Linked DNA regions of Homo sapiens: regions 1, 2 and 4 are each linked to region 3. Evidence: promoter capture Hi-C in human tissues and cell types (Jung and others, 2019). All regions are on one chromosome and are shown on one strand. Each heading gives the region's core, a stretch centred on a gene start or on the middle of the fragment in contact. The rest is flanking DNA. Distances are from core to core; before and after follow the strand shown.

What was found. The method cuts DNA at HindIII sites, captures the fragments that hold promoters and counts their contacts. A contact is called where the count stands out against the background at its distance.
Region 1: a fragment that was not itself captured here is called in contact with the fragment with the promoter of FARP1 in region 3 in 6 of the 25 tissues and cell types used here (IMR-90 fibroblasts, dorsolateral prefrontal cortex, mesenchymal stem cells and 3 more).
Region 2: a contact is called between a fragment that was not itself captured here and the fragment with the promoter of FARP1 in region 3, in 5 of the 25 tissues and cell types used here (IMR-90 fibroblasts, hippocampus, liver and 2 more).
Region 4: a contact is called between a fragment that was not itself captured here and the fragment with the promoter of FARP1 in region 3, in 3 of the 25 tissues and cell types used here (dorsolateral prefrontal cortex, mesenchymal stem cells and thymus).

What each region holds. Positions count from the first base shown.
Region 1 is chr13:98,268,545-98,273,682 of GRCh38, forward strand. All of the region lies in intron 2 of FARP1 (FERM, ARH/RhoGEF and pleckstrin domain protein 1), which reads left to right. Among named protein-coding and RNA genes, the nearest start is that of MIR3170, 63 kb to the left of the region's middle. The HindIII fragment of the contact is 9,127 bases long and covers 1-5,138 here.
Region 2 is chr13:98,246,658-98,252,148 of GRCh38, forward strand. The region is part of intron 2 of FARP1 (FERM, ARH/RhoGEF and pleckstrin domain protein 1); the gene reads left to right. Among named protein-coding and RNA genes, the nearest start is that of MIR3170, 41 kb to the left of the region's middle. The HindIII fragment of the contact is 3,624 bases long and covers 1,907-5,491 here.
Region 3 is chr13:98,141,281-98,146,948 of GRCh38, forward strand. It overlaps FARP1 (FERM, ARH/RhoGEF and pleckstrin domain protein 1), which reads left to right and starts at 1,814. Exons shown (of 27, transcript NM_005766.4): 1 at 1,814-2,212. It overlaps LOC105370328 (a long non-coding RNA gene), which reads right to left and starts at 2,630. Exons shown (of 3, transcript XR_931670.4): 1 at 2,559-2,630. RefSeq lists silencers at 1,265-1,314, 1,555-1,864. The HindIII fragment of the contact is 5,274 bases long and covers 1-4,089 here.
Region 4 is chr13:98,221,088-98,226,100 of GRCh38, forward strand. All of the region lies in intron 2 of FARP1 (FERM, ARH/RhoGEF and pleckstrin domain protein 1), which reads left to right. Among named protein-coding and RNA genes, the nearest start is that of MIR3170, 15 kb to the left of the region's middle. The HindIII fragment of the contact is 6,407 bases long and covers 1-5,013 here.

The sequences.
Region 1 (5,138 bases), core at 17-2,516, 130 kb after region 3:
GCAACCTCCACCTCCTGGGTTCAAATGATTCTCCTGCGTCAGCCTCCTGAGTACCTGGGATTACAGGCGCCCACCAACACGCCCGGCTAATTTTTGTATTTTTAGTAGAGACAGGGTTTCATCATGTTGGCCAGGATGGTCTCGAACTTCTGACCTCAAGTGATCCTCTTGCCTTGGCTTGCCAAAGTGCTGGGATTACAGGTGTGAGCTACTGCATCTGGCCTTTCCCTTCTTTGTGTGTGTGTGTGTGTGTGTGTGTGTGTGTGTGTGTGTGTATACAGCTTCCCAAGTAGCTGAGACTACAGGTATGTGCCACCACGCTCGGCTAATTTTTATTTATTTTTATTTTTTTATTTTTATTTTTATTTGTAGAAACGAGGTTTCGCCATATTCCCCAGGCTGGTCTTGAACTCCTGGGCTCAAGGGATACTCCTGCCTTGGCCTCCCAAAGTTCTGGGATTACAGGCATGAGCCATCATGCCCAGCCTCTCCCTTCTGGTAGCTGAGTTAAGGGACTCTGTGGATGGCTTTATTGTGCAGCTATAGTATTTAATAAATATTGGTAATTTACTGGCTTTGTTTTAATATTAAAATTATGGTAAAATGAACTGCCCTGACCCTTGATATGCTTGTTTCTACCCTACCTTCCCTCAGTCAGTCAACCTCATCTAAATATATCTCCCTGCAGTTCTAATGGTGATCTTTCTAGGTGAATGTCATGAGCTGCTTTTTGATGCTCTTTCATTATCTGTGAAAAAGGATAAAAGTAGTTAAGTGGATAACTTAAGTATAAACAAAATCTTCATGGATTCTTTTAGCAGGAAAATGAGCTTGAATTGAGTGGTCATTTCTGTTCATTAAGTTCAGATTTTGAGGCCCTCCCCGCCAAGATGATTCTAGTTACTAGTGCTTACATTCGTGTACTGTGTTCTAAGCCATTTGGCATCTCAACAGACTCATCCACAGCAGCCCTATGAAATTGATGGGGCAGATATTTCTATTTGCTTTTGGCAAATGAGGACATGAGGCTCATGAGGGGCCTGTCAGGCCCAGAAACACTGAACCTTGTCCCACTCTTGGGTCAACATAATATTTAGCTTTCAGTGACTGCTCATTCTTGACCTTGTTGTTTGTCAAGGAAGGGGTTGGGGAAGAGAAAATTTAATTTGTTACTATTTTTCTTAACTACTGGGACTATATTGCCTGAGTGAGTGGTCGGGGGGTGTCAGCGAAGATGTTGGTTCAGGTAAGAATAAAATTCAGTTGTTATTTATTTAAGACTTACCATGGGCTGGGCCCAGTGGCTCACGCCTGTAATTCCAGCACTTTGGAAGGCCGAGGTGGGTGGATCACTTTGAGTTCAGGAGTTTGAGACGGGCCTGAGCAACATGTCTCTACTAAAAATACAAAATTAGCCGGGCTTGGTAGTGCACGCCTGTAGTCCCAACTACTTGGGAGGCTGAGGCCAGAGAATCACTTGAACCTGAGAGGCGGAGGTTGCAGTGAGCTGAGATCACTGAATCTAACTGAAAGGCTTTTGAGAATAGGTAATTTTATAGAAGGAGAAATGCAGTACATAAAATTGGCTTTATGTTTATCTTGAATACCAAGAAAATTGTTTTTCTTGGGTAAATTTAGGTGATTTTCCAGTGGTGCTTTCTTGCACATTTGACCATAGAAGAACATGTGTTAAGCCCATCCCTTCTCATTTGGTCAAGGTCCATCCTTGGTCTCTATGACAGTTGAATGAAGATTGAGCTGTTCACACATCCTCAGTAATATACAAGTAGTATATCCGTCAAAAGGGTTTTGTGCTTATTTTCCAAGAGCTCTCGGTGCTCTAAATTCTTTATATGAACATGTAAGATTGCACATCTGGTTTTAAATGTGGACATGGGCATTGTAGGGTCCTGGTTTTTAAACTATTCATGACTTACAATGCCTCAGCGTATCTTCCTTGGGAGAATTCATTTTGTTGAATGCTCATCCTGAGGACGCAGCTCCCTTCCTAGAAATGAGGTAGCTCCTGGCACCTTGAGAGTTCCTCTGTGTGCAGGAAACCGATGAGTTTGCAGATACCAGCTTCATGATAGCCTGACTGAAACTTGTTGAGGAGCAATGCAGGATGGTGAATATTTTCATGATCTAGATCAGTTAACTCATCCTGCACATGGCTAACTTTATGTCATGAGAACAGATTTCTTAGCCTGAGAATTGGGACAACTTAGAAATTGGGAAACTAAGCATGTATATCTTTTAATTTTTTTCTTTTCTCTCTTCTCTTCTAAATGGAACATTCACGCAAGGCAGTGTACAGAGATGGTGTGGTATACTGCAGAGAGCAGGGGCCCCGAGGGCAGGCCAGGGTACGAGTCTAGATGCCACCCTCTGAGCCATCGTTTCTTCACGGTTTTACATTGCTGTCCTCTGAATCAGAAATCATGATGTAAGACGAGGCGAATTGCAGTTGTGTGAGCTCTCTTTTCATGAAGACGATTATACATTTTGCTGATGTCTCAATAATTTCCCAAGTCAGGATGACAGAAGAGCTGAAAGCAGCCTACTTAGGATTATTCAAGGAAATGAAAGAACTGTTTCCTTCATTCATAAACACCTGAGAGTCTGCTCTGGCTTAGACACTACGCTAGTTGTTGAGAAACAACTCAACAAATTAGGCCGAGAATCTGCCCTAATGAAATCTAGAGTTTGGAAGAGAGAACACATCTACAAACCAGCACACGGTGACGACTTTTTTCCAAGGACCCACTTGGCGTCATTTGCTAAATGCTCCTCTTAACGGTGGTGAGTCTTATCTCCTCTTACATTGACAGTACTGACAAGTATACATATATATATTTTTAAATTTTACTTTAAGTTCTGGGATACATGTGTAGAACGTGCAGGTTTGTTACATAGGTATACATGTGCCATGGTGGTTTGCTGCACCCATCAACCCGTCATCTAGGTTTTAAGCCCCACATGCATTAGGTATTTGTCCTAATGCTGTCCCTGCCCTTTCTCCCCACCCCTCGACAGGCCCCAGTATGTGATATTCCCCTCCCTGGGTCCATGTGTTCTCATTGTTCAGCTCCCACTTATGAGTGAGAACGTGTGGTGTTTGGTTTTCTGTTCCTGTGTTAGTTTGCTGAGAATGATGGTTTCCAGCTTCATCCATGTCCCTGCAAAGGGCATGAACTCATTCTCTTTTAAGGCTGCATAGTATTTATGGTGTATATGTGCCACATTTTCTTTATCTAATCTATCACTGATTTGATAGACTGTATATCAGTATATCACTGATTTGGGTTGCTTCCAAATCTTTGCTATTGTAAATAGTGCTGCAATAAATGTACGTGTGCATGCTTCCTTATCATAGAATGATTTATAATCCTTTGGGTTTATACCCAGTAATGGAATTGCTGGGTCAAATGGTATTTCTAGTTCTAGATCCTTGAGGAATCGCCATACTGTCTCAAAATACATTTTTTTTTCTTTTTCTTTTTGAGGTGTAGTCTCGCTCTGTCTCCCAGGCTAGAGTGCAGTGGTGCGATCTTGGCTCACTGCAACCTGTACCTCCTGGGTTCAAGTGATTCTCCTGCCTCAGCCTCCCAAGTACCTGGGATTATAGGCGCCTCCCACCACGCCAGTCTAGTTTTTGTATTTTTAGTAGAGATGGAGTTTCACCATGTTGGCCAGGCTTGCCTTGAACTCCTGAGCTCAGGTGATCCGCCCACCTCACCCTCCCAAAGTGCTGGGATTACAGGTGTGAGCCACCTCTCCTGGCCAAAATACATATTTTTTAAGTACCTCAAAATAGCCCTTTTGCACGCTAATGGAAAGCCCAACAGTCATTATGATAGAGAATAATCTTCAGTAAAAGATAAGGAGGAAATTTTAATTTGGGAACCCGTTCGTGAAATGCATACCCTTCTGTTTTCCCTCTGACTTCCTTGTCCTTTGTGTTTAGGAGCTTAAGGGATCCTTCTGTTTAAGTCACTAGGGGCTCAATATTAACGTGCAGATATGTGGGGAAAATGTCACTTGTTTGGTTGCAGTTTTGCCAGCTCTAAAATCAGTTGGTAGTGGCTGCCTGGAGTATCTTGTCCTGAAAGATTGGGAGTTTGAATTGAGGATCAAAGGGGGTGTCAGAGATTAGTGATGTCTTCTGTCAGGAGGGCTGGTTGCCATGGTTGCTACCCTGGCTTGAGCTCCTATCAGCTCACATTTCAGAGATGATTAGTGAGGATTATAAGGATTGGGCTCAGAGTGGGGCCATGGGGCAGAAAGAAGACACTGGCTGAACTATTCTGAACTCTTAATGGGCACCCAAAACAAGTATGTTCAATTTTGTCAAAAGCTAGAAGGGCCCTGGCCACACTTGTGTTAATGGAAAAACCAGACTCCATAAAATATTCTAAAGAGGTATATTCTGAGCGAGTATGAGAGACTGGGAAACGTAGTCTGAAGAGGTCCTGAGAAAGTGCGCCCAAGGTGGTTGGGTTACAGTTTGGTTTTGTATATTTCAGGGAGACAGGAGTGCAGGTGAAGACATGAATCAATACAAGGTTAGTATGCGTTGGTTTGCCCTGAAAAGGTGGGATATCTTGAGGCAGGGGCTTATAGGTGGATTCAGAGATTCTTCAATGTGTCATTGGTTAAAAGAGTAAAGCTTTGTCTAAAAATGTGGAGTCAGCAGAAAGGAATGTTTAAGATAAGGACGTCTGTTAACCAAGATACTGGGTCAGAGTCACCTGTAGGGATGTGGGACTTAATCCTTGTCTGTTTGGCCTTAGGTCCTTTGATGTCTTGCTGTCACAAAGAGTCTGTTTTGCGAATCTTATGATCTCTAGTTTAACATTAATGCTGGTCAGTTGTGCCTAAACTCCAAAAGGGAGGGGATGTAACGAGGTATGTCTAACCTCCCTTCCCATCCTGGCCAGGAATTCAGTTCTTAAGGTTCTTCTGAGGTCCCGTTAGCCAAGAGGCGTTTGTTCAGTTGGTGGAGGGCTTAGGAATTTCTTTTTAGTTTACACTGAAATGAGCTGTGCAAGGCCTGGGGCCTCATCTCTCTAACTTCTTGTCCACGGAAGCATCTGGCACAGTGGGCATTCAGTAAGCGTTTGTTGAAGTAACAGTGA
Region 2 (5,491 bases), core at 2,469-4,968, 110 kb after region 3:
CTGGGTACTGAAACAATGCTATAAGGGAGGCATTTAGAAAAGCTTAATTTTAACCAGGTACTTACACCACAAACAGAATGACATCACTAAGCACACAGCACGTTAGTGAACAGTGGCTTTGTCAGAGCTTTCTACCCAGAGCCCTGAAATGGAACATTGTTAATTAGCTTTAAAAAATCCAGCTGTTCCTTGAGCCCATGGATTCTGCCTGTGCACTTCCTGCATACAACCGTCTACACAGAACCGAGGGCTGGAACTCCTGTGTTTAAGAAGGCAGCTGTTCCTTGGCGGGGCACAGTTGCTCACGCCTGTAATCCCAGCACTTTGGGAGGCCAAGGTGGACGGATCACCTGAGGTCAGGGGTTCAAGACCCAGCCTGGCCAACATGGTGAAACCACGTCTCTACTAAAAATACAAAAGTTAACTGGGCGTGATGGCGCATGCCTGTAACCCGCATGCCTGTAATCCCAGCTATTCGGGAGGCTGAGGCAGAAGAATCACTGGAACCCAGGAGGCGGAGGTTGCAGTGAGCTGAGATCGCACCACTGCACTCCAGACTGGGTGGCGGTGAGACTCTGTCTCCAAAAAAAAAGTAGCTGTTCCTTTCTACACCTAGAAGACGATGCGTGCCATCTACCAATAGTGTCACGCCCAGGGTGTGTACTCTGTTGGTGGTGTGCAGCCTTCCACACCCCTGGCTGGGCCCACTTTGGCCCCCACATAGAGTTCTTTAACTGCCCTTTAAGAAAGTCACACTAAGCTCTAAATGACCAGGCCGGGTCACTAACGCAGACAGACACCCCAGTATGACTGGCTGGGCTATCCATCCCCGCAGCCCTGCTGGGGGAGTGGAGCTCACTGGGAGGACAGGTGGTGTGAAACAGAGAGAGCTATTTGAACTAACATGGGAGGAGGGAAGACGGAGAAGGATACAACAGACAGTGAGCTCAGGGCTCTGCTGGGATCCAGGGCAGGGGAGGAACCTTTCCCAGAGAAAGTTAGGAAGGTGAGCAAAGGTTGGTAGGTTGACCCCAGCTTCCACCTTCAACGGATTCCAGGCAGTTCACGAGGAGCCAGAGTGTAGATGATGCGGATTGGGAGCCGATAAGAAAGTCCAGGCAAACAGAAACAGAGAACAGGGGCAAGATGTCCGCAGCATCCAGAAGGAGGCCTCTTCACAAAGTGAATGCCACCAAGCCACGGATGTGGTCATCAGCTTCCAGCGATCCTTGTGAAGAGCTGTGTATTGAATGCTGGACACTTGATCAGCAGTCGTATGATAAGAATAAACCAGTTCTCAGAAGAGTCGCAGATTCCTGACACTAAGACCAGAAACACATCTCTGCCAAGGGTCCAAGAAGGAAACAAATTTTATGAACAAAAACCTTCGCAGCCTCTCTCAGCATCAGAGAGGCGGGTACCTCGGACCTGTCTTCCCAAACAGGCCAATGGGTGCAATCCCGTCCAGCCCAGCAAACAGCAACTCTAATGAGAGAAATGGGCCAATGACACCTCTGTCTAATATCTGGCATGAGTAAAGGATAGATTTTGCAGTACCTAGAAAAATAGTGAACCAGTTCTCTCTGAAATATTCTGTGATTTTTGAACTCTTTTCTACTGTATTTGGGTGGAATGAGATTTAATAGTGGACTCAGGGACACTGAGGGTAGAGGGAGGGGTAAGGAGATACCTCCTAGCAGTGATGTGAGCTGTTTCTCCCCGGGTAGAGGGCTTCCCCAAGGTATTTTCCTGTGGCCATAGACATAATACAGTATCCTTTTATAGGATGGGATAGTGTCAGGAAACAAAATGTCTCATGTTTTAAGAAATCATGAGAAGCTTCAGAAATACTTTTGGATATTAATGTTAAATCTAGGATATGCTGAGTCCTTACCACACTGGATAACACATTCTTCATGGATTCCGTATTTGTGAATCCACCTACTCCCTAAAATTTGTAGTCCCCAAATCAAGCTTGTGGTGCTTTCCTGGTCATTTGTGGACCTGCCCAGGATTACAGAAAAATGTGAGTTGCCCAATGTGCACATTCTCAGCTGAACTCAAATGAGGGTCTGCCTTCTTGTCTCAGCTCTCGCGCTGGAAACAGGTGCCTTTTTGATGATCTAGTTAGTGCCGTGATTTGTTTGCGTTTTCGTGCTTTTTGTTGGTGATTTCACTGTTTAAAATGGCTCTGAAGTGTAGTGCTAGAAGCACTGTCCAGGGTTCCTGAGCGCAAGAAGGCTGAGAATGTGCCTTACAGAGAAAACGGGTGTTAGGGAAGCTTCATTTAGGCATAAGTTCTAGTGCTACTTACTGGCCATTAATTCAACATTAATGAGTCAACAGTGTATATTAAGTAAAGTGTCTTTTAACAGAAACACACATTAAACAAATTTATATTGTTCAGTTGATGAGAATATGACAGAAGATCTCAGAATCTAATCTTGTATTTCTCCTAGACGCAACAGTTCAGTGTTCCCTAGTTCAGTGGTGACCATGTAGAGTGCAACTACAGCAAATAATGAGAATCGACTGTATTTCAACTAAGTGAGCACCCATGGGTGCTCATTTAGACGAATAGGAATTTTCAGGTATCTTTTGTGATGCTTTAATTGAATTATTTTACTGTTACAACTTTGCCTTTGGAAATATTGCAAGTATAGCTCCTTGTTAATGTACTTGGTGAACTTTTTTGGGAACATAAAATTTTTAATGATACGATACTTCTTTTATGTGACATGGTAAGAACTTAAACTCTTGTAAGATAGACGCTTTTTTGCAAGAGTGTTACAGCCCATTATTGAGGGAAGAGGTCTGATTTTTGCTTGAGGAATACATCATTAAAAAGAACTTCTGGTCTGCTTACTGTTTTACTTTTTCCTTGTGGCAACAGAGATATTTTGGCAGAAGTCTTGTGTTTCCCCACCATGTTCTTCACCCAGCTAATGGCCCATTGATGACACAGAAATTGTTTGGCTATTGGAATGATTAATGTCACTCAGGCCTATGTCTCGGGGAGGCAGGAAGGTAACAAGATGTACATCTCCCAAAGAAATATCACACAGGCCTTGTGTTTACACCTGTCTTTGAGCATTATAGAAGAAAAAAGACAGACGGAAACCTGAGGCCATACCGTTTCTTAGTGATGGTTCCCCGTGGTGGTATTGACAACATGAAATTCCAGGGGCAAATGAACAGTCTGGTTCCCCACCTCTCTCCCTTCAGTTACATATGCGATGTTTGACAGCTCCTTCCCCAAATTTCTTTTGGAAATCTTCAAAATTCATCAGGGTTTAGATTGTTGACCTGTTTTGAAAACCTAATTTTTAAGTTTTCAATCTTTTAAGCCTTGGAAAGGATAGGCATTTAATAAAAGAGAAAATAGATGATTTTATATGTATGAGAAAATACATCGCTTTAAATTTACTCGTGAGATTCACCAATGATTTCTGAACACCAAACATTGGGGTGGCCCAGTGACTTAATCGGAGAAACACAGACACTTTGAAAAGAAATGTGGGATTTAAAAACCTGCAAAACTGAGTCTGTCATTCTTTAAAATGCCATCTCAAGTCACAAAATAATGATGTTAAAATCTGAAACCATATGTGTTTTGAATGGTTTAGGTTCTAAAGAAAGGTACAATAATGCCAGTCTTTTGGGTTTGTACATGATTTGTTTCTTTCTCACATAATCTGTCAAAACTTTAAATTGTGAAATATGGCATATTTACAAAAGAGGCTATAAAAAGTGTAAGTATAGTTTAACAAATAAAAATATGAGGGCCGGGCACGGTGGCTCACACTTATAATCCCAGCACTTTGGGAGGCCGAGGCGGGTGGATCACGAGGTCAAGAGTTTGAGACCAGCGTGGCTAACATGGTGAAACCCCATCTCTGCTAAAAATACAAAAATTAGCTGGGCATGGTGGCAGGTGCCTGTAATCCCAGCTACTTGGGAGGCTGAGGCAGGAGAATCGCTTGAACCCGAGAGGCAGAGGTTGCAGTGAGCCGAGATCACACCACTGCACTCTAGCCTGGGCGACAGAGCAAGACTCTGTCTCAAAAAAAAAAAGAAAAGGAAAAAGAAAAAAATATATAACACTACCAGTATGGGCCACTCTCTGAAGACTTTTAACCCCCATCCCTTAAGAAGTAATCCCAGCCTAAATTCTGTGTTGGTCACTCATCTGCCTCTTTTTATAGTTTAACACATGTGTGTAATTCTAAACCACTGCATGATTTGGTTTGTAAATTACTGGTTCAGTGCCTGTCTTCCCCACTTAGCTGTAAGGAGAGGGATTGTGTGGCCCCTGGTCTTTGATCTGTCCTAGGCTCGAGCACAGTGCTTGGCACATAGCAGGGACTTCATAGATGTTTATGAACTTGTGAATACATAAATATGTTTATTCTTAGAAAAATGACGATTTCTAATATATGAATAAGGCACATACATGTGTGTACATTTGAATCATAAAGAATATTAAATCTTATTGTTGAACCATGAAGTTAAGTGGACAGCTGTTAGAACTGGAAGACCTGGATGCCCATTTCTCAAAGAAAGAAGTGAGGCTCAAACAGGTGCTTTGTCCAAGTTCATTCAGTTAGACGGTGGCTAAGGCGGGGCCACAGTTCATATCTTCTGCCTCCTTGTCTAGGATTCTAGGCCCTGTGCACTCTCAGGATGGTTTTATGCAAGAGATATAGACGACTTTATTTGCTTAATAGAAAGTCCCCACTGGGGGCCGGGCATGGTATTCTTACGCCTGTAATCCCAGCACTTTGGGAGGCTGAGGCGGGTGGATCACTTGAGGTCAGGAATTTGAGGCCAGCCTGGCCAACATGGTGAAACCCCACCTCTACTAAAAATACAAAAATTAGCTGGGCATGGTGGCGCACACCTGTAATCCCAGCTACTTGGGAGGCTGAGGCAGGAGAATGGCTTGAACCCGGGAGGTGGAGGTTGCAGTAAGCTGAGATCACGCCATTGCACTCCAGCCTGAGTGACAGAGTGAGACTCCATCTCAAAAAAAAAAAAAAGAAAAAAAAGTCCCCATTAGGGAAGAGGGAGGACAAACAACTACCAAAGCCCTCCAGCATCACCTGTTGGCATCACGCAATTTGATAAAGTCCATGATAAACCATAAAAAGATAGCAGATTGGATAGTAATATAGCTAATTGTATGTATGTATGTATGTGTGTATTTTGAGATGGTGTCTCATTCACTCTGTTGCCCAGGGTGTGCAGTGACGCAATCTTGGCTCAATGCAGTCTCCGCCTCCTGGGTCCAAGCGATTCTCCTGCGTCAGCCTCCTGAAGAGCTGGGATTGCAGGATCCTGCCACCATGCCCGGTTATTTTTTGTATTTTTAGTAGAGACAGGGTTTCACTATGTTGGCCAACCTGGTCTCAAACTCCTGACTTCAAGTGATCTGCCCTCTTCGGCCTCCCAAAGTGCTGGGATTACAGGCGTGAGCCACCGTGCCCACCTA
Region 3 (5,668 bases), core at 564-3,063:
GTGTAGTCCTTGGACCAGCAAGTAACACCTGAGAGCTTGTTAGAAACAGTCTCAGACTTACTGAATCAGAATCTGCATTCCAACAAGATTCCCTGGTGATTCAGGTATACACTAGAGTTTAAAAAGCCGCCTACAGCAACTGTTCTCAAACCTGGCTACACACTGGAATCACCTGCGGAACTTTACTGATGCCTGGGTTAGAATCTTTATATATTTGGCTGGGGTGCAACCAGGGTGTTGTTTTTTAATCGCAGATGATTCCATGAGTTTGAGACCCACTGTCCTAACACTGTGATCCTCCAAGTGTGATCCCAGGACCAGAGCAACATCACTATCTGGGAATTTGTTAGAAATGCAAACTCTCAGGCCCCACCCCAAACCTACTGAATCGGCAGCTCTGGGGATGGAGCCTGACAGTCCTTTATCCCTGCAGGCGATTCAGATGCTTGCTAAGGTTTCATTAGGTAGGTCGGGGATGCGGCCCAAGAATGTTCATTTCTTGACGTTTCCAGGGGCTGCTGGTGGTGGTCGTGGTCTGAGAACCACACTTAGAGAATCACGAGCAGAAAAAAATCTGATCTGTGACACACAGCTGGTTGGGCTGACAGAGCAAAGCCTCAAACCCACCATTTCTTCTCTTCAACCACAGACCACCAAATCTGCAAGTATTACATCTCTGCTCCTCCCCAGGAGCTGCCCACAAGCACCCCCTACTTCCAAGACCCCTGTTCTTGTCTCAACCCGCCCTTCTATCAGGGTCCCTACACTCCACTTCTGCCCAGCTCCTGTCCAGCTGTGAGTTCACTTGAGGCCTCTCCCGTGAAATCTGCCCTCTCGGTCTGAGGTCAGGGAACTCCTGTAAGACGCAAAAGGCCCACGGTTCTGAGCCAGTGGCCTCCGAAGGCCGGAATCCGCTAGCCCCGGGTCTGGCAGAACGTCACTTGCTGCGCCCTAGGCCTCTTCCCGCCACGCTTAGAGAGAGGGACTGGAGGCTCAGAAGGGGGAAGAGAAGGTAACGCGGCAGCTGCTGGGTGGGGACGGTGACTGTGCCCCTAGATCGCTGCCTCCTGGGTCCTGAATCTTGCTCCCCGCTCCGTAGAGTTCCCGAAACCCCGAAGGCTCTCAAGCACCGCAAGCCACTCCTAACCTCCCCCACGCCATTCCCCAAGGGCACTGTCCCCCGAGGCTGGGCGGGCGGGAACTGTCATGGGATTCGCTCGGGCGGAGGGCGCTGGGCCAGGACGTGGGCGGGCGCGGGGTGGCCGCCGCTCCCCCAAGCTTAAGTCCCGCGCAGCCCGGGGTGGTGCCGGAAGCCCGTGCCTGTGGCTCCGGGGGAGGGGAGGGCTCGGTGGGTCCCTGAAGACTGTCCTCCCCGCGCGACGTCGCAGGCGAAGCAGCCCCAGGCAGGACCTCAAAAAGCGACCTGCAGAGTCCGAGCCCCTGACCGCCCGCCTGCCGCTCCCGGCTTCGCCGTGCACACGTCTCCCGCTCTCCCCGGTTCGTTTTTCGCCACAGCTGCTGGATTCGCGTCTCGCCAGTGGCGCTCCCCGCGCTGCATTAGGTAGCGCCGCGCGGAGCCCGGCCCTGGCCGGAAGCCCAAGAGAGGCGCAGATCCCCGGCGGCGCGCTGGGCTCGGGAGGCCCCTGGGCGCACCTGCCCGGGCGGAGCGGAGCGGGGCGGGGCGGGCGCAGGGCGCGGGCCCGGACGCTGGAGGGGGCTGTGGCTCTCCCGCGTCCCCGCTGCTCGGGCTGCGCGGCGCCCGCCTCCCCCCGCCGAGGGGCCGGCCCAGACCCGGGGAGGGGCGGTGGCCACTGCACTTCCCGCTCGCCGGCCTCAGAGGCGGCGGGTCCGGCGCGGGCGCAGCGGTGCGGGCGCTCGGCTGGGGCGCGGGGCGGGGACGCGGCCGCTGCCCGCTTTGCGCCGCTCCTCCCTGCGCGAGTAGCGCTGGCCCCGGCGTCGAGGCGGCCATGGCGACCCGGAGCCCGCTCCCCACCCACCCCGCCTGCTCCGCCCTCCCCTCCGCCCCGCGCCACCTTTGATGGCTCGGACCTCAGCCGGCCACCGCCAGCCCTGCTCGCGCGCCCGCGCCGCCGCCGCCCGCGGGTATTAATAGCCGGCGCCGCCGCGCCCTCGGCCGCCGGGGGCTTGGGAGCCGCCGATCCCGGAGCCCGAGCCGGGAGAGGGAGCCGCCGCAGCCGCCGGCGCTGTGGAGGTAGGAGGCGCGCGGTGAACAATGACCGCGGCGGGAGGGCGGGGGCCGGCGGGGTCCGGGCCGCGGGCGGCAACTTGTGCGAGTCCAGGCTCCCGCAGCGCACGGCCGCGGCTGCGGGCGAAGGTGGGCGCGTGGTCCCCGAGGTCCTGCCCTGCGCAGTCGGGCGGCGGGTCGGGCCCGGGCAGCCCCGGCCACCATCGCAGGAGCTCGGGGGCCTCGGGGCTCCGGGCTGCCCCCTGCGCCCCTCTCCCCTCACCTCCGCCGACGTCGGGCTGCGGGGCTCCGCGCCGGTCCCCGCTCGCCTCCCCCGACCCCGGCGCCCTTCCCCCGTTTCCTTCCGTCCTACCCGCCCGCTGACAGCGCTGGACGCCGCTTCCGGACCTCGGGCCGCAATCTCGGCCCCTGAGGCCGGTTGCGGGCCGGGGAGGTGGCCGCTGGCGCGGATGCCGCCGGGTGCCCGCCGCTCGCCCACGCGCGGCGCGAGGGTTCCCGGCGGGTGACAAAGAGGAACACACCCTCTGCCCAAGTTAGATTTGTGTCTCTCTTTACTGTCTGCCTTTATGCAGGGCAAAGTTTTTTTTATTTTTTATTTTTTAAAGCAAAGGACAGATTGCTTTGCGGCGAGTATTTCCAAACAACTTCTGATTGTGGTTTTACGATTCAAGTTCCGGAAACTTTAGCTGTGTGATCCGGCTGGACCCCGGAGACTCTGTGTGTGTGTGTGTGTGTGTGTGTTTTATTTGAGGGGGGGAAATACGAATTCCCTGTAATGAGTCTGGATCTCGTTTGTGGCAGCTGGAGGCCAGCGGCTGTTGGGGATCGAGTAGGGTTCCCCAGAAAGGAGGGAGCTGAGGCTCACAAAGAAGCGAGGCCCTGGTATCTGATCAGTTCGTGGAGACGTGGGAGAGCCTGCTTGTCATCTGGAACAGTTTAGCAGCCTCGGCCTCCCTGTCTCTCCCAGCCCTGGGGAGTACCGGTGGCCTCTGGCCGTTTCATTATATTGTTGTTAAGGCTCTTCTCCTTGTCAGTTTACCAGGTTTGACCGCCCAGCCCTGGTCTCTGCGTGGAAACCCCCGGGGGCCCCTCTCCTTCCAGTAGGCAACATCTTCAGAGCCAAACCCTGGCCTAGCACTGGCTTCTGTTTAATGTGCTTTGCACGTGGTGACTTGCGGAGCCCATTTCAGAACATCCTCCAGCATTGTCTTGCTTTTCTTATTCAGTCTGAACAAGGAGAGGAGAAAGAAACATCTTTCTGGTCCTGAAAGCTTTAGGGAGAGTTGCCTTAAAAATTGGCTTCGTTGTTCCGGAGACTTTAGGAGGGCCCTGCTTCATCCTATCTTTGGCTTTCTCCCTCCTTCCACAGTGTTCTCGTAGGGGGTTTATTCTCAGTCTTTCGGATGGGTTGGTCTCCAGGATGTGACAGTTTCTGACAGTGTGCTTCATAAGTGGGTACAGCTAGCACATGGCTCACTTTATATTCCTGCAGCATCGTTCTGCAGCAAGGCATCAATATTGGAGTTACTCCAAGCACAACGAAGCGTTTGTGTTTTTAGAATGTCTGGCTAATAGATCTGCTTCTGGGTAAAATAAATAGAAGCATTATTGGGCAATGGCTGCTTTACTGAGGGAATTGTTGGTGGAGACAGTGAGTAGATGCCTTCCTAGCCCAGCGCCTCCCAGAATCTCTTACTTGTTTCTTTTATGTGAATGGGAAACTGGAAACCCTCGGTGTGGAGGTGGCTGTGCCTCCTAGGGGCAGATTCTATGGTGCACCACCCCGCCCCCGTTACTTGGGGTGTGGTGTTTCATTGAGAAGTTCTGTCACTGTGGGAATCCTTTTGAAGCGTGGTTTCTAATGCCCCCTTTCACATTGATATTCTCTTCCTTTAATTGATACAGGGATGGATTTATTCCTTGCTTCATAATAGAATGTTAACTTTACTCTGTAGCCAGACTTATCAAAGAAGATCTTAAAATAATTATCCTGGACAAGTTTCTTACTGGGTTATTGCATTCACCTCAGAATTATCCAGAGTTTACAAGGAACCTGGAGGAACGTTTTTGTTTCACTTTTCGTTAAAGAAACTGTCCAAGGGGGCTGGGCATGGTGGCTCACACCTGTAATCCCAGCACTTTGGGAGACCGAGGCGGATCACTTGAGATCAGGATTTCCCAGCCTGGCTAATATGGTGAAACCCTGTCTCTACTAAAAATACAAAAATTAGCCAGGGGTGGTAGCAGGTGCCTGTAATCCCAGCTGCTCAGAGGCTAAGCCAGGAGAATCGCCTGAACCCAGGAGGCGGAGGTTGTAGTGAGTTGAGATTGGGCCACTGCACTCCAGCCTGGGCAACAGAGTGAGACTCTGTCTCAAAAAAAAAAAAAAAAAAGAGAAAAAAGGAACTGCCCAAGGAAATTGTTTTGTTTTGTTTTTTGGTTAAAGATACAAATAAGATAGCATTGAAAGGGTTAGTTTTTTTTAAACAGTGAAGCTTATACTCATTTAATTTATTGAACACCTAAGAGCTTAATTCATTTGGAAAATTGTATATATTTATGAGGAGGATGCTTGTGATAAACATCAGAAAAAAACAACTCTTTTCATCCTGGACGGGATTAGAGAATACTAGAGAAAGGATAAAAGGCTGGTTTCTGCAGGCAGAATATGCTTAGGAAAAATGGCATTGTGATTTTCCCAGAGGATAAGAGAAATTCTGTGGATTTGTAAGTACTGTACTTGCCTGATTTTTTTTTTTGAGATGGAGTTTTGCTCTTGTTTCCCAGGCTGGAGTGCAATGGCGCAATCTCGGCTCACTGAAACCTCTGCCTCCCAGGTTCAAGCGATTCTCCTGCCTCAGCCTCCCCAGTAGCTGGGATTACAGGCATTTGCCGCCATGCCCAACTAATTTTCTGTTTTTAGTAGAGACGGGGTTTCTCCATGTTGGTCAGGCTGGTCTTGAACTCCTGACCTCAGGTGATTTGCCCGCTTCGGCCTCTCAAAGTGCTGGGATTACAGGCGTGAGTCACAGAGCCTGGCCTTGCCTGATGTTTTGATAGCATGGTGGACTGGACATTTTAAAGAAGCCCTTTGTAACTGGCCTTGCTTATTGCAGATAACTGCTTAGTGTTTTTGAGAAATGCACTTTCCTCACCAGCTGAAGGTGCTACAGATAAGAGGGGCAGGTATAGTCCTGTAATGCAGGTGCTAAAGTCTTTCTACTTTGGAAGGACAGGCATTCCCTGTATTGGTTACCGTTTGCCTGGGAAGGGAGGCTGTGGGGTTTTAGGCTCTCGTGGCAGTCTCTCTCCTGTTGTTTGGTGCTTTTGATTGAAAGGAGCCTCTCCAAGCCTGGCTATTGAATGGGAAGCAGCGGATCAACTTCTTTTCTTGTCTTTTAGTGTCAGAGTTTATTCTGTGGTGGTACTGGGTCACAGTCCTTTCTCTCTGTTTCACCCATG
Region 4 (5,013 bases), core at 1,240-3,739, 80 kb after region 3:
ATGAGTGGCTGCCCATTCTCATCTCTACACATGGAGAATACCGACCACTTGAGGCCCAGGTGAGGCTCTAATGAGATCTTCTGCAAAAACACCTTGCAGAGAACACAGATTTGGTTCTCATGAAAGTAGGTTGTCTTCCTTCCTTTCACCCTGAACTTTAGTTTCCTTCTTGTTCTTTCACGGAATTGAGGCTCTGCTTTCAATGTAGAGCTGTTGGCTGGATCAATGGGAGAAAAGAAAGCGAATGAAAGCACTTAAGAATAAAAAATCATGTGCTTCTGTCAGATGGAGTCATTCCTCTTAGACCACAGCTGCCTGTGTAGTCTCACATCAAACTGGGGCTTTCTTTGGAGGGGAATCATTACCTAAGCCAAAGCTGTGTCCCAAGGGGCCTTTTGGAAGGTCTATAAGAACCAAGCACCACTTGGACAATTGCCGTGAAACCTCCATTTCTGCCAAGCTCGTTTACTGCGTTTTTGTGGACTTACGTGCAGCTTCTGTGAGCTTCAGTTTAATCAACTTGAAAATTGAGGGGGTTGCACTTTGCGCTCAGAAATTTTACGTGCATTTTTGCTTTCCTGATTTCTTGATCTCCTCTATTTTCTTAGCTTCAAAACTTTTCCATTTTCCTAGAGTCAGGATGTTCCTGGGTGAATCATGTGTCCCTCTACCATGGACTGGATGAATGGTTTTAAGGTAGACATAGGATTTCAAGATCCTCTAGGGTAGGTCTTCTCAATATGGGCTCTGTGGGTTCATTTGAAGGAAGTGCTCAGTCAGCTGGATGCTCTTGTGTTAGAATGTAAATATAAAAACATTGCACATATTAAATGGACTGATTTTAAAAAACTATCTGCCATGTTTGAATGTTCAATTATTTGCTGTCTTCTATCACTTTGAGCATTTGAGCTGGAGGTAATGATTTTAACTCATAAGACAGACACAGAATGACTTAGTTTGGGATTTCTCTTCTGTAGATAGAATGATCATGTAAAAGAGCAGTTCTCAAAGCTGTTAGCACTTTGTAACTTTGAAGGAGAGCCTCATAGGTCTCTGTTTCCTCATTTATACAAACAGGAAGTTGGACCAGATACCCACAGTGGAATTCTGTGGCTCTGGTTTTATTTTATGGAATGTGGTCTTGGAAACATGATACGGGTTTCACAAATGTGTATCAACATGGAAGGCAAGGTGCTACTGGTGATAAGAAAATGAATAAAAACAATAACTACCCTCTGAAAAATCCCTTGCTGTGTGCCAGACATTGTGCCAAGTCTGCCCGTACATTATCTCATTTGTTGCTAAGTGAACCTGTGAGGCAGGTGAGAATAACACCGATTAGTCTCACAGGGCATAAGTGACTTGGCGCGGGTCAGAGTGCTGGAGAGAAGGAGCTGGAGTCCCAGCCCAGGACCACATACACCTAAGCCTGTGTGTCACTCACTTTGTTAATGGTCTGGGGCCATAAAGAGCCGTTAGGATAATACAACATGTTGGCTGTGCTAGTGCCTGTGACAGGTGCCAGTGGAGGGTGCTTTTTTTTTTTGTTTTTTGAGACGGAGTCTTGCTCTGTTGCTAGGCTGGAGTGCAGTGGAATGATCTCCGCTCACTGCAACCTCCGCCTCCCGGGTTCAAGTGATTCTCCTGCCTCAGCCTCCCCAGTAGGTAGGACTAGGACTGCAGGCGTGCACCACCATGCCCAGCTAATTTTTTTTTTTTTTTTTTTTTTAAGTAGACATGGGGTTTCACCATGTTGGCCAGGATGGTCTTGGTCTCTTGACCTCGCAACCCGGCTGCCTTGGCCTCCTAAAGTGCTGAGATTACAGACATGAGCCACCGTGCCTGGCCGGAAGGTGCTCTTAAGTGGGCAGGATGGGTTGAAGAGGGCGGAGTCTGCAGAAGGAAAGCCCAGTGACCAGGGTTTTGGCAATATCATCTCCACATGGTAGTTACTGATAAGGGCCAGGGCCCTGCAGAAGCAATGTCAGGGGACTGACAGATACAGGAGAAACCCAGGACGTAGACCTGACAGGGCGTGGCAGCTGATGGGACAGAAGCAGGGAGCCCCCCAGGAGTGGGAGAGCACCTGCAGTCATCAGTTTTACAGCCTGGATGGCTCAGTGCTGTCACCAAGGGCTGAGAAGTCAACTCTGTGACAAATGTTTTACTTGAAATAATGTCTTCCTTCAGTTGACATGAAAGGAACATTGGTAGTGTTGCCAAAAGAAGGCATTTCTTTTTGTTTGTTTGTTTGTTTGAGACAGAGTCTTGCTCTGTCACCAGGCTGGAGTGCAGTGGCACGATATTGGCTCACTGCAACCTCCGCCTCCGGGGTTCAAGTGATTCTCTTGCCTCAGTCCCCCGACAGCTGGGACTACGGGCACCCGCCACCATGCCCGGCTAATTTTTGTATTTTTTAGGAGAGATGGAGTTTCACCATATTGTCCAGGCTGGTCTCGAACTCCTGATCTCAGGTGATCCACCCGCCTCGGCCTCCCAAAGTCCTGGAATTACAGGTGTGAGCCACAGCGCCTGGCCATAGAAGACATTGCTTTGTTTTTTATCACAAAGAATCTGTGGCTCTGGAAATTAACTTCCAGGATTCTTAGTGATTATGTAAATGGTACAAACTGGAAGTAACAAATGGAAGTTGATTGCTTGGTTTCAATTTATGTTAGGAAAGTTATTTTTACTTCTTGCATTCCAATTTCCTCATCTCCCCAGAAGCTACTCTGTTAAGCTTGCCACACCTGGGTGCCCACCAAGCTGGAAAAGCATTTAGATCCAGTGTTTTCAAAGGACTCTGTTCAAAAGCATTAGAAAGGAGCAGGTCAGTTGCTTTCTTCAGCTCATTGTTTAGTTTTGATGTAATTTGCCTGTGACATGAACTATAAAATGCAATTGGCTATTATCCCATCTTCCAGTGGCCATTTGTCAGTGAGTATTTCTGCCAGCAAACAGAACTCAGGTGCTCCATTTCCTTTGATCTAGGCATAAGACTGAGTGTGTAAAGCATTGCAGAGCAAGACCAGAGGGCATTTGTGGAGTTGTTAGGTTATCACAACAATACCTTTTTTCATGTTTGAAAGCTGAATTACTTTCCCAGGGCAGCCATAACAAAGTACTACAAACCCGTGGCTTAAAAAATAGGCAGTTACGGCCAGGCGTGGTGGCTCATGCCTGTAATCCCAGCACTTTGGGAGGCCGAGGCAGGTGGATCACGAGGTCAGGAGATCAAGACCATCCTGGCTAACATGGTGAAACCCCGTCTCTACTAAAAATACAAAAAATTAGCTGGGCGTGGTGGCGAGTGCCTGTAGTCCCAGCTACTCGGGAGGCTGAGGCAGGAGAATGGCGTGAACCCCAGAGGCGGAGCTTGCAGTGAGCCAAGATCGTGCCACTGCACTCCAGCCTGGGCGACAGAGTGAGACTCTGTCTCAAAAAAAAAAAAAAAAAAAGAAAAAAAAAAAGAAAACACAAAACAATAGGTAGTTACTATCTTACAGTGCTGGAGGGGCAGGTGAAACAGAGCTGAGTCCCTATCTTCTTGACTACCCATCCCTTGCCAGGGACTCCCATTTGCTGACCCCAACCAGAAGCCCCAGAGTAAGAGAGCTGAGGTGAGCAGTTTGTGGAGCTGGGCCTGCAGGCAGGCAGTGAGAGAAGAGCCAGGGCACCCTCTGTGGTTGGAGGCGACCATGACTTCTGCCTCACAGAGAACATGAAGGCTGTGAGGCGTGGGCTGCTTCCACCCCTGCCTCGCTAACCTCAGGCTCTCTTCCTCTGCCTTGGCTTCCATTCCTGCATTCTCTGGCCACGGGATCCTTTTTACCTCCCGACTGATCCTTCATCCCTTCACCTACAGGACATGGCTTCACATGGCAGGCATCAATAAGAATACCTTTCATTCACACTTCAGTCCTGGGATTCACAGACATGCTCTGAATTTCTAGACGGTCTTAGCAGTAGAATTCAAATGATGAAGAAAGAGACTGCTTTGTGTAGTAGTCACAGCATAAGTTGAATATAAGAGCTGAAAAAACCTCAGATGTTACTATTAACCATCTTATCTCTTAGCCTGATCATTTTTGTAAGGACGAAGATGACATATTTTATTAGAGCTGTTAAACGGGACGTCTGGTTTCGTGATCCAGTGCCGAGAACAACTCTTTTCCTTTTATTGACTTGATTTCAGTTGCATTTCACAGCTCATTGCACCCAAGTAGATTTCTCCACGATGATCAGACCTCCTGTGTGTCGCCCACAGGACTGAGCTGCTTGGACTCGCACCATTCCTCTGATCATGCCCTGGGGTTTATTACGATCTCACCCATTATTCCCATCACACGAGGAGAACTCTCGCTCCAAGTACAACAGTACGAGTGTTTGCTAACTGTGGACTCTGCACTCCCTCATGAAACCAAGAGTGTTTCTTCTTCGTTTCCCTTCCTTTCCATTTTAAGGACCATTTCTCTAAGGCAGACTTTCCCGTCAGGACCCTCCCCTGCCTTGTGTCTCTTTTGAAGCTCCTGAAAGGCCCGTGGCCATCTTAGAAAAATAAAGTTCTGATTTTCTCCAGAAAACTGGTTCAGCAGAAACCAAGACACTGCCAACAGCCCTCCGGCGTCCTGCCAACCGGGCTGTTAGAGTCTTTATGTGGGTAGGTACAAGTTGCCTTGCTTAGCTTCCAAACTTATTTTTGCCCTCTTGTCTGGCTCCTAAAATGCTGGATCCAGGGGCCTGGAGAGTTGGTTTTGTCTCTGGTTATTGTTTAGTGGCACACAAGGTACTGACTGAAAACAAGGGCGTTTTTGTACATCCCTTTTACCCACATGCACTCTTGGGGAGGTCAGTGATGGTTGGAAGTCCCTGCTGGCACCGTCTCTGCCATAGCATTGGGGGAGCACTTTAGTTGTCCGTTTTTCCAGGCTAATCCATTCCTTAATGACTTAAGTTGACATTTGTTGAATTATGGAGTACGAGTTCGCTAGCACTGCTATAACAAAGTACCAC